3 separate regions of the Homo sapiens genome follow, and regions 2 and 3 are each linked to region 1. Evidence: promoter capture Hi-C in 16 types of primary human blood cells and fetal thymus (Javierre and others, 2016). All regions are on one chromosome and are shown on one strand. The core of a region is centred on a gene start or on the middle of the fragment in contact, and the rest is flanking DNA. Distances in the headings are between cores, read along the strand shown. Region 1 holds the start of NEMF (nuclear export mediator factor). Region 2 holds the start of ERO1A (endoplasmic reticulum oxidoreductase 1 alpha). Region 3 overlaps PSMC6 (proteasome 26S subunit, ATPase 6).

Region 1 (3,481 bases), core at 431-2,930:
TGCAAACAGCAAGATTTATTTCTTTTTTGAAAGCTGAATAATATTCCACTGTATGTATGTATGTGTGTGTGTGTGTGTGTGTACATATATATTTGCACTCATTATCCGTTCATCCATTGATGAAAAGTAGATTATCCCTATATCTTGGCTATTGTGAATAATGCTGCAATGAACATGAACATATATCTTCAGGATAGTGATGTTGTTGCTAGATCACATGGTAATTCTATTCTTAATTTTGTGAGGAGCCTTTATACTGTTTTGCACAATGGCTCTACTAATTTACATTCCCATCAACAGCATACAAAAGTTCCCTGTTCTCCACCTTCTCCCCAATGCTTTCATATTTTGGGCCATTCTGTATGGTTTACTGTACCGTATGACAGTAATGCTGTGCAGTATGTGCTATAGCCATTTTTGCATCTACTGGTACCAGTTCTGAAATAGCAGCGGCGCCCTTTCTGTTTAGAGTCGCCTTCTGGTGGTAGGAATTCTGGTTGCTACCATGTGTAGCCTGCAAGCCTCTAGCAGCTCTTTTGCAGCGACGCCGAGCGCCGGGCGCGGTGGCGCGTGCCTGTAGTCCCAGCTACTCGGGAGGCTGAGGCTGGAGGATCCCTTGAGTTCAGGAGTTCTGGGCTGTAGTGCGCTATGCCGATCGGGTGTCCGCACTGAGTTCGGCATCAATATGGTGACCTCCCGGGAGCGGGGGACCACCAGGTTGCCTAAGGAGGGGTGAACCGGCCCAGGTCGGAAACGGAGCAGGTCAAAACTCCCGTGCTGATCAGTAGTGGGATTGCGCCTGTGAATAGCCACTGCACTCCAGCCTGGGCAACATAGTGAGACCCTGCCTCTTTTGAGTTCTCACCTTATAAAGTAGCCTTTCTTCCCATGCATCTATCCTAAGACAAAAGAAATGCAGAATTTACATTCTTACAGGACTATTTTCCTCACTACACTGTGAATCCCCCCTCCCACCCCACCCCCATTGGGAATCTTCTTGTTTTTATTTTTATCTTATTTCACCATTATCTAGCTAAACACTTGCACATTCATGCTGCCAAGTGTTTATGGAGCACCGATTGTACACCAGGTACTGCGGTGAGTCTCAGGGGTACCAAGACCGAGGTTCGATGAGAATCCTGTAATCAATTGCAGAATGCTCCTTCCGAGAGCAGGACCCATCAAAATAGGAACTCCGTTTTGAGAGTTCGCCTCGATCGTTGAGGATAATCTTAGAAGGACCGAAGCAGTTCCGTTTCGTTACATTTCAAAATCTTATGTCAAAGTAAGCGCGCAGAAAGGGGTCCTTGCTCTTCTACACTGAGCCCTACGGCCCCCCTGTGGGGAAATACTCCTGATAATCATCTCGAAAATTGTTTCGACCAGCAGGGGTCACTATGAAGGCTGACTTGAGCCCAAGACACAATGGGGCACGGTAACCAGACTGGTCCGTAAGGGTTCCAGGAAGGAATGCAGTTTCAAGAGAACAGTTTGAATCTTTATTCGAATTTGAATTTTGGTACAATGAAGAGAGTCAGCTGCAACTTGACAATCGAAATCTTCAGAAAAGCGACACAAATACGTTCGCCTCGAGGAATATTGGGTCTTCTGCGCGGCCGTAGAGCTCCGCCAAGTGCGCCTGCGCGGAGGAGAAGTGGCGTCGAGTCCGGCCGGGCAGTAGAGGAACTTGCGGTAGTGACCCTCGGGCCTCGCCATGAAGAGCCGCTTTAGCACCATTGACCTCCGCGCCGTACTCGCGGAGCTGAATGCTAGGTACAGTACCCTAAGTGACGAGGCTCGTGTGGGGAGTGCAGGAGGCAGAGGCCGGAGTCCCATGGCGCAAACAGACCAGCTTGATATGTTTCCTTATTTCCTAGTGCGTCTATGGACCTGCCTAGGCCTGAGTGGGCAGGCGTGTGGTGTCTTTCCCGTGACCCTTAGGATACCCCTGGGGGTCCCAGGCACCTCGTGCCCCATCCCCCGCGTCCTCCCAGCTCTCTGGCTTGCCCCGCTAGCGCGAAGCTCTTGCATTGTTGGCCTGGGTTGTCCGGGTTGGGCAGGAAACGTTTGTTAAAACACGAGACGCCAGAGTGGTCGTTTGCTTCAGAGGTTTCCAGACTGGGGGCTTGGTTTCTTGAACACCTCCCTCCCCTCACCCCAGAGAGAGAGAGAGCATCGCGGTTTTAGCTGGATTGAGCAGATTTGGACTGAGATCTGGATTCTAGTCTGGATTCTATTATTCAGCCCTGTGAGCTTTGTCATATTTTCGGGGCCCTCTTTTATCTTTTTTTTTTCTCCCTTGTAATAAATTAATTGGATTATATTTTACTGTATTTCTCCCCCAAAATTGGGTCATTTGGAAGACGCAAGCTATAGTGTGTTGTTCCTAGAGCTGATAGACCACTTCTGTTTTTAAATCGTTACTCTTAAGTTTTGAACTGAATCTCCAAATGGCTTTCAGACTCTGCTCCTCGGCTGACTCCATATCCTTAGAGACTGAGATCCGCTCTTTCGAAGCTTTTATTAAATTATGTGTAGTTTTATGTTTCAGACAATAGTGTAACATGTTACATGTTTCCTTTATCTTTGCAGCTTGCTAGGAATGAGAGTAAACAATGTTTATGATGTGGATAATAAGACATACCTTATTCGTCTTCAAAAGTAAGAACATTTTATAGGCTTATTTTCTCTTTGACAATTAAGTATGAGATTACTGATTTTTTTTAACCTACATTTTAAGCCTGTTTAGCAATTAGCTTTGGCATATACCCTAAAGAAAAATTCGACTTTTTTCTTCTACAGACCGGACTTTAAAGCTACACTTTTACTTGAATCTGGCATACGAATTCATACAACAGAATTTGAGTGGCCTAAGAATATGATGCCGTCTAGTTTTGCCATGAAGGTAAACTTGTTACGCTTGAAGCTAAATTTTAAGAGATTGCTCACTAACAATTAAGTTTTTAATTGGGGTTTCCTTCACTGTTACGAATAAAGTGCAGATAAAATGAAGGTAAAGGGAGTGGTTGACAGATAATGGGTTGAATAAAGTGAATATTTATTAATTGATTTCTCCCCATTACCTTTCACATCCTGTTCTGCTCCAGATCTTCTGTTTCCACAGTCACTATTAGAGTTCAAGCTTTTATCACATTCAGCCTTACAGTTCCTTAACTGTAATTCACTTCTCTGCATCAAAACAATTCTAAATTAGACCAACGTTAATTTTTTTGTTTTTGTTTGTTTGTTTTTTTGTTCGTTTTTGAGAAGGAGTCTCGCTCTGTCACCCAGGCTGGAGTGCAGTGGCACAGTCTTGGCTCACTGCAACCTCTGCCTCCCAGGTTCAAGTGATTCTCTTGCCTCAGCCTCCTCAGTAGCTGGGATTACAGGCGTGTGCCACCAGACCCGGCTAATTTCTCTATTTTTAGTAGAGATGGGGTTTCACCATGTTGGCCAGTCTGATCTCAAATGCGTGACCTCA
Region 2 (3,576 bases), core at 1,037-3,536, 2.8 Mb before region 1:
AAAATGCAAACAACTTAGCTGGGCGTAGTGGCACGCGCCTGTAGTCCCAGCTGCTCAGGAGGCTGAGGCAGGAGAATCACTTGAACCCAGGAGCTGGATTTGCAGTGAGCCAAGATTGCGCCACTGCACTCCAGCCTGGCGACAGAGTGAGAATCTATCTCAAAAAAAAAAAAAAAAAGAAAAAGAAAAAAAAAAAAAAAAGCTTTCAGGTTAGGAGGGAGATTGTATTAATATGTACATGTGACATGTTGTAGATACTAGAATTAGAGCTTCTCAGGTCCATCAGGATCTCAGATGGGTTGTTGACTTTTACTACATGTCTACTTGGCAGTGATAGGCAGAGCTCTAGGGTTTGCAGTAAAATACATGAGTTTAAGTCATTTGAACTATTTCAACTTTTAATGTGCATGCAAGATGTCGGAAAGCTGCCAGTTTCACCTAGAAACTACCTTCTTAGGCTTGGTGAAGTGGCTCACACCTGTAATCCCAGCACTTTGGGAGGCAGAGGCAGGCAGATCACTTAAGGTCAGGAGTTCGAGACCAGCCTGGCCAACATGGTGAAACCACATGTCTACTAAAAATACAAAAGTTAGCTGGGTATGGTGGCGCAGGCCTGTAATCCCAGCTACTCGGGTAGCTGAGGCGTAAGAATCACTTAAACCCGGGAAGCGGAGGTTGCAGTGACCCGAGATTGCGCCACTGCACTCCAGCCTGGGTGAGGAAGTGAGAGTGTCTCAAAAAAAAGTCTTCTTAAAACAACAAACAAACAAACAAACAAAAAACAAAAAGTAAGGCCAGGTGCGGTGGCTCATGTCTGCAATTCTAGCACTTTGGGAGGCTGAGATGGGTGGGTCACCTGAGCTCAGAGCTAGAGACCAGCCTGGCCAACATGGCAAAACCCCTTCTCTACTGAAAATACAAAAATTAGCCGAGTGTGTGGTGGCTTACGCCTGTAATCCCAGCTACTGGGGAAGCTCAGGCAGGAGAATCTCTTGAACCTGGGAGGCAGAGATTGCAGTAAGCCAAGATGACGCCACTGCACTCCAGCCTGGGCGACAGAGCGAGACTCCGCCTCGAAAAAAAAAAAAAAAGTAATCCCAGCACTTTGGGAGGCTGAGGCGGGAGAATCGCTCTTGAGGAGTTTGAGACCAGCCTGGGCAACATGGTGAAACCTCGTTTCTACTAAAAATAAAATTAGCCAGGCGTGGTGGCGCACGCCTGTAGTTCATGCTACTCAGGAGGCTTAGGTGGGAGGATCGCTTGAGCCCAGGAGTTCGAGGTTGCAGTGAGCTGCGATCGCATCATTGCAGGCCAGCCTGGGTGACCCAGGGAGACCCTGTCTGGAAAAAAAAAAAGCGGATAGACTAGTCCCAACTCTGAATGTTAAAAGACCAGGACTGGGTATCAGAGGACCTCCAATCCTTGCTCACCTTACCTCACTTCTCTAGGCCTGTTTCTTCCTATGATATGAGCGGGTGGCTTCCACCCTCGCTGTCTAATACAGTGGGCACTAGCCAGCCACATTTGACTATGAAATGGGTCTAGTTCGCATCGAATACACACTGGATTTCAAAGACAAAAAAAGTCAAATATCTTATGAATAAATTTAATGTTGGTTATATTTTGAAATAATATTTTGCACATTCGGGGTTAAATAAAAATATTTTAAAAATAAAATGTACCTGTTATTTTTACTCTTTTGCTGTGGCTACTAAAAATATAAATGACATATGCTGCCCTGGTCTAGATGCTCTCTAATATCCCTTTCAGCTTTAAGACTCCGCCGGGAACACGGTGGACACGTAATTCGTACGATTTGATTGTCTCGCATTGAGATACGGAAGGATTGGCCGGGAGTGAGCGGGCTGGGGCTGGGCGGGGCGGCGCGGGGCGGGCACCCCCCGCCCCCCAACCCCGCAGGAAAACACAGGCCCCTCCGGCTTTCGCTCTCGCTCTGGGAACTGGAAGGACCCCCGACTCCCGCGCAGGGTCTGGGGTTGTGCGCGTCGGGTTGCGTCTCCAGGCCGGGGGCGTCAGGGAGCCGGGGGCGGGGACGGGCGCGGGCGCAGCGGACCGGGCGGGGCCGAGCCGGGAAGCTGGTCGGTGCGTCAGCCTCACGCGGCGGGAAGGAACCGGTCCGAGGCCCCGGGCTGCCGGCGCGGGCGCCGCGGCACGTCCACAGGCTGGGTCGCGAGGTGGCGATCGCTGAGAGGCAGGAGGGCCGAGGCGGGCCTGGGAGGCGGCCCGGAGGTGGGGCGCCGCTGGGGCCGGCCCGCACGGGCTTCATCTGAGGGCGCACGGCCCGCGACCGAGCGTGCGGACTGGCCTCCCAAGCGTGGGGCGACAAGCTGCCGGAGCTGCAATGGGCCGCGGCTGGGGATTCTTGTTTGGCCTCCTGGGCGCCGTGTGGCTGCTCAGCTCGGGCCACGGAGAGGAGCAGCCCCCGGAGACAGCGGCACAGAGGTGCTTCTGCCAGGTGAGCGATGTGCGCGTTGGTGCTGAGGGTCCCGGCGCCCTCCGCGGCGTGCACTGTCCCGCACGCCCTGGCGGGTGAGCGGCTGGGGGTGCGTCCTTGCATCTCTTCCCACCGGGAATGAGACTCCGGTGCTGCTGCCCGGTGGCCGGGACTGAGTCTGGCTTGGCGTGGACCGGGCCTCCACGGCAGCCTGGACGTCGCCGCGCCCTCCGGTGCCTCGGACCAGGAGAGGGGTTGGGTGCACGCGGTTGAGTGGGTTTATGCATCTTTGTTGGTCTTATCTGCCCGGGGAGAGTGTGCACAGTGTATAATGCCCTGCCAGTATTTGCTATTTTCACAGAACCTGGATCTTTCTCACTTCTCTCTTGACCAGGAACTTGTGTACCCAGTACCTGTGCTGCGTGCATTTCGCCAGCCTTTCTGGCTAAGACGTTTGTGGGCTGATCTCAGATTTCGATGTTAGGCGGAAGAATGGCTGCTTGCGGTTTTTCTGTGTGTAAGCCCAACTACCTGATGTCTTTGGGACTGCAGTTGCCCTCTGGTTTCTGGTCCTGTGTGCTCTTTTTCTCGAATGTAATGAGATTCTCTTATCGTGACACCCGTTAAGCTGGTACGAATTGGGAGGAAGGTCCTTATTCTTCAGTGCACAAGTTTAATTACAAGCGGATTATGATCATTTCCTTCTGTAAGAGATGTGGTTTCTTGAGCAAAAAATTGAGAGAAACTTACAGTTTTCCATTATCTTCAGTATCTAGTATTTCAATGTGATTACTCTTGTCAAAGCCACTTTTTGGTTGACTCTGTTGATAAAAATTACGTTTTATACAAAATTAAGGGTTAGGCATCCATGTTATTCCTAAGTGGATTTTGCTATTAATTTATTATCAGAAATACCATTTTATGTGTTTAGGGGCATGATACCATGTCAAAGGAAAGATGCATTTAAATATTATGAAAGGTTTCTCTTTCACTACTTTACATTCTTGGATTTTGTTGTTTTGCTGAGTGATTTGGGAGTTGAGGTGAGTGTTATCTAGGAAACTAAGGGAAGTTGAAAGAAAATTGCTACTTTACAACTGAGACATTGAAAAGTCCTTTAC
Region 3 (3,558 bases), core at 32-2,531, 2.9 Mb before region 1:
CAAGGACTTTATAGTGAAACTGACTTTTTTTTTTTTTACACTGCAAGTATGTGGCAGTCAAGAACGCAATGGCTACTAACTAGCACCGTTTCATGCCACTAATGCTGATTCACACTACAGTGCAAGTAATTTAATTTTACCCATGGTGCTCTTGCACCATCAGCACAAATGTCAACACAGTGGAAGAGCCAAACAACATTTTAGTTTTTTGTTTTGTGTCATTGTGGGGCTACATATGTCAAGCAGTATGCTATAGGTACATTTGCTTTATATAAAAAAATTTTTTTTTTTTTTTTTTTTTTTGAGAAGGAGTCTCACTCTGTCAGCCAGGCTGGAGTGCAGTGGGGCAATCTCGGCTCACTGCAACCTCTGCCTCCCAGGTTCAAGCAATTCTCCTGCCTCAGCTTCCCGAGTAGCTGGGATTACAGGTGCACGCCACCACGCCTGGCTCATTTTTGTATTTTTAGTAGAGACAGGGTTTCATCATGTTGGTTGGCCAGGCTGCTCTCAAACTCCTGACCTCTGGTGATCTGCCTGCCTCGGCCTCCCGAAGTGCTGGGATTACAGGTGTGAGCCACTGCGCCTGGCTTAACATTTCAGTATTATAAAGTAGTTTTGACCTTACAGAGTCCATGAAAGCACCTCTGGGTCTGTGAACCACAATTTGAGGACTGTTGCACTAGAATCACATGGCCTGTTAAGATAAATGTACTGTGAGGCACAAATGCACTAAGCATGCCTCAAAGAACAGTAGACATAAATATCCTATCTCATTCTCACTCTGAAGAGAGGAGAAGTTGGAACTGCCCACATCAAATTTCCACCTTATGGCCAGGCGCAGTGGTTTATGCTTGTAATCCCAACATTTTGGGAGGCTAAGGTGGGCAGATCGCTTGAGTCCAGGAGTTTGAGATAGCCTGAGCAATATGGCAAAATTGCTTCTCTACAAAACATACAAAAATTAACCAGACATGGTGATGCACGCCTGCAGTCCCAGCTACGTGGGAGACTGAGGTGGGAGAATCACTTGAGCCCGGAAGGCAGAGGTTGCAGTTAGCCCAGATTGTGCCACTGCACTACAGCCTGGGCAACAGAGTGAGACCGTGTCTCAAAAAAATAAAAATAAAAAAATTGTCTTTTTTTTTTTAATTCCTTAATTCATTTATCTTATTGGTGGAGTAGAAATAATTCAATACCAACCTGGTGGTCCATATAACAAACAGCCTTTTGGAGGTATTATTCCTACACGCTGAAATAACTCTGGGTTTGTAAGAGGTAATTCTATCACCTAGAAAAGAAGTTAAATCTTTCTTAAAAAGTTAGTCAAGATTTTTAATGTACTTTCAAATACTCTAAGTCAAATATCACCTTAGTTAGGTGTACACATCATAATTCTTAATAGACCTAGACTTCCATGCTAGGTAAAACCATTTATATTAAGAGGTTTTGCTCCAGGTAGATTTAAGATCTCTTAAATCTAAAAAATTTCAAATAATGTTTTTTAAATAAACCACACACTTGATTGGGGTGATGGTTACACAGATATATAACTTGTCCAAACATATTTGAAATGTACACTTAAGAATCTACATTTTTTTAATGTAATTATACCTCAATGAAAAATTATACCACAAAAAAATCAGTTAAGTCAAATGAACATATAAACAAAAAACACAACTCAAAAGATCTATACTAGTTTGCATTTGAAAATACAACACAAAATAATTCTAAAATGGGGGATGGATTTGACAACATACCAAGAGAAAAGGTATATACAATTTTTATCTGTTGGCATTTTGCCACGGCAGCTTTTAAAGAACAGTATGTTCTGCTCTCAAGACTGATTCAAGGAAGAAAAGTAGAGACTAGAGAAATTGAAGATCTGAAAGTCCAATTTAAATTACTTATAGTACCAGTAACTTAAGAGAGAAATTTCTTTTTTTTTGAGACAGAGTCTGTTGCCCAGGCTGGAGTGCAATGGCATGATCTTGGCTCATTGCAACCTCTGCCTCCCGGGTACAAGAGATTCTCCTGTCTCAGCCTCCTGAGTAGCTGGGACTACAGGCGCCACCACCACACCTGGCTAATTTTTGTACTTTTAGAAGAGATGGGGTTTCACTGTATTGGCAGGCTGGTCTTGAACTCCTGACCTCAGATGATCCACCCACCTCAGCCTCCCAGAGTGCTGGGATTACAGGCGTGAGCCACCATGCCTGACCGAGAGAGAAATTTCTATTGAATAGTTGTGTTGGGCTAGGTGCGGTGGCTCACGCCTGTAAATCCCAACACTTTGGGAGGCCAAGGCTGGAGGATGGCTTGAGTTCAGGAGTTCGAGAAGAGCCTGGACAACATGGTGAAACCCCATCTCTACAAAAAATAAAAAAATTAGTCACATGTGGTGGCGCATGCCTTCAGCTACTTGGGAGGGTGAGGTGAGAGGATGACTTCAGCCTGGGAGGTAGAGGTTGCAGTGAGCTGAGACTGCACCACTGCATTCCAGCCTGGGCAAAAGAACCAGACCCTGTCTCAAAAGAAAAAAAAAAGTTGTGTCCATATGTGCATAAAGCGTGACTGGGAAAAGCCAGAAGTGAGAGAAATCAATACTCTAAAGTGTAAAGTATCTGCAGACAGTAAAGGATACTGCATGTATACATGGGATTCTTTCTGCTCCTATGGCTAATGCAGCAAATCACTGTTGAAAGCAAGTTTTCACCGTTTTATGAAGCACCTGTTCTTCCTCTGTTGCCCTTTCATTAATACAGGTGAGAACTGCCTTTTTTTTTTACACTTAGACCAGTGCTTCCTCAAGTATTGTCAAAGAAAAATTTGGTTTCATAATCACTTGGAATGCTTGTTTAAATGCTAATTCCTGTGCCTACCCCCAATCTAGTCCATCAAAACCACTCAGAGGGCCTAGTAATGTGTATTTTTAATAAGTGTTCCAAAAAAAATTAATGTACTGAAGTATGAGAACTGGCTTAAAGCTTAAATCAGATTGTGTAAGACATTCCAATTATTCCCATTAATTCCTAAATATTCACAGCCTAATTTAGGATAAAATCCATAGGACAATGTAATTTGCTTTACAGATAACAGTTAAGAAGCTGTCTGTGCTATGAAGTAAGGCAATCCTGATTTGACTGTTCACCTAAAAGCTTACAAGATTTAAGACAATCCTAAAGCCAGTGGTTTTCTGGAATGGCAGCAAACAGCTTTAACAAAATAAAATATTTAAGGAACAGGTACCCTACTCTTCTGTAAGAGTGGGAAGCTAGTATTAATGAGGTTATGGAAAAAACTCATCACACACATTATCCAAATATGCTCTGACCCAAGTAACTTATTATGATAATCAAAACCACAGGATATCAGATTACATCAATTATTTTTAGCTTTTTCTCCGTTCCTTTGCCACAAAAAGAGCAGGATTTTTCTAACACCAAATTATCTCCAAATAAAAAAAAACAGTAATTTTCACAGCTAGAAATTCAGTGCTATTCTTCTTAGCAAGAATAGTAAATACATAATATTCTTAACTACCATTTAGACAAAAAGTAC

Evidence for each region. The method cuts DNA at HindIII sites, captures the fragments that hold promoters and counts their contacts. A CHiCAGO score of 5 or more calls a contact.
Region 2: the fragment with the promoter of ERO1A here is called in contact with the fragment with the promoter of NEMF in region 1 in 1 of 17 cell types (neutrophils); the score reaches 6.0 in neutrophils.
Region 3: a fragment that was not itself captured here is called in contact with the fragment with the promoter of NEMF in region 1 in 1 of 17 cell types (neutrophils); the score reaches 5.0 in neutrophils.

The regions. Positions count from the first base shown.
Region 1 is chr14:49,850,987-49,854,467 of GRCh38, reverse strand. It overlaps NEMF (nuclear export mediator factor), which reads left to right and starts at 1,680. Exons shown (of 33, transcript NM_004713.6): 1 at 1,680-1,773; 2 at 2,593-2,661; 3 at 2,803-2,905. The coding sequence starts at 1,715. It also overlaps RN7SL3. RefSeq lists a silencer at 571-630 and an enhancer at 1,434-1,673. The HindIII fragment of the contact is 4,280 bases long and covers 1-2,519 here.
Region 2 is chr14:52,694,268-52,697,843 of GRCh38, reverse strand. It overlaps ERO1A (endoplasmic reticulum oxidoreductase 1 alpha), which reads left to right and starts at 2,286. Exons shown (of 16, transcript NM_014584.3): 1 at 2,286-2,476. The coding sequence starts at 2,363. RefSeq lists a silencer at 1,815-2,354 and enhancers at 2,605-2,654, 2,260-2,761. The HindIII fragment of the contact is 13,242 bases long and covers 205-3,576 here.
Region 3 is chr14:52,711,611-52,715,168 of GRCh38, reverse strand. It overlaps PSMC6 (proteasome 26S subunit, ATPase 6), which reads right to left. Exons shown (of 14, transcript NM_002806.5): 7 at 1,201-1,288. Among named protein-coding and RNA genes, the nearest start is that of PSMC6, 6.2 kb to the right of the region's middle. The HindIII fragment of the contact is 3,410 bases long and covers 1-2,986 here.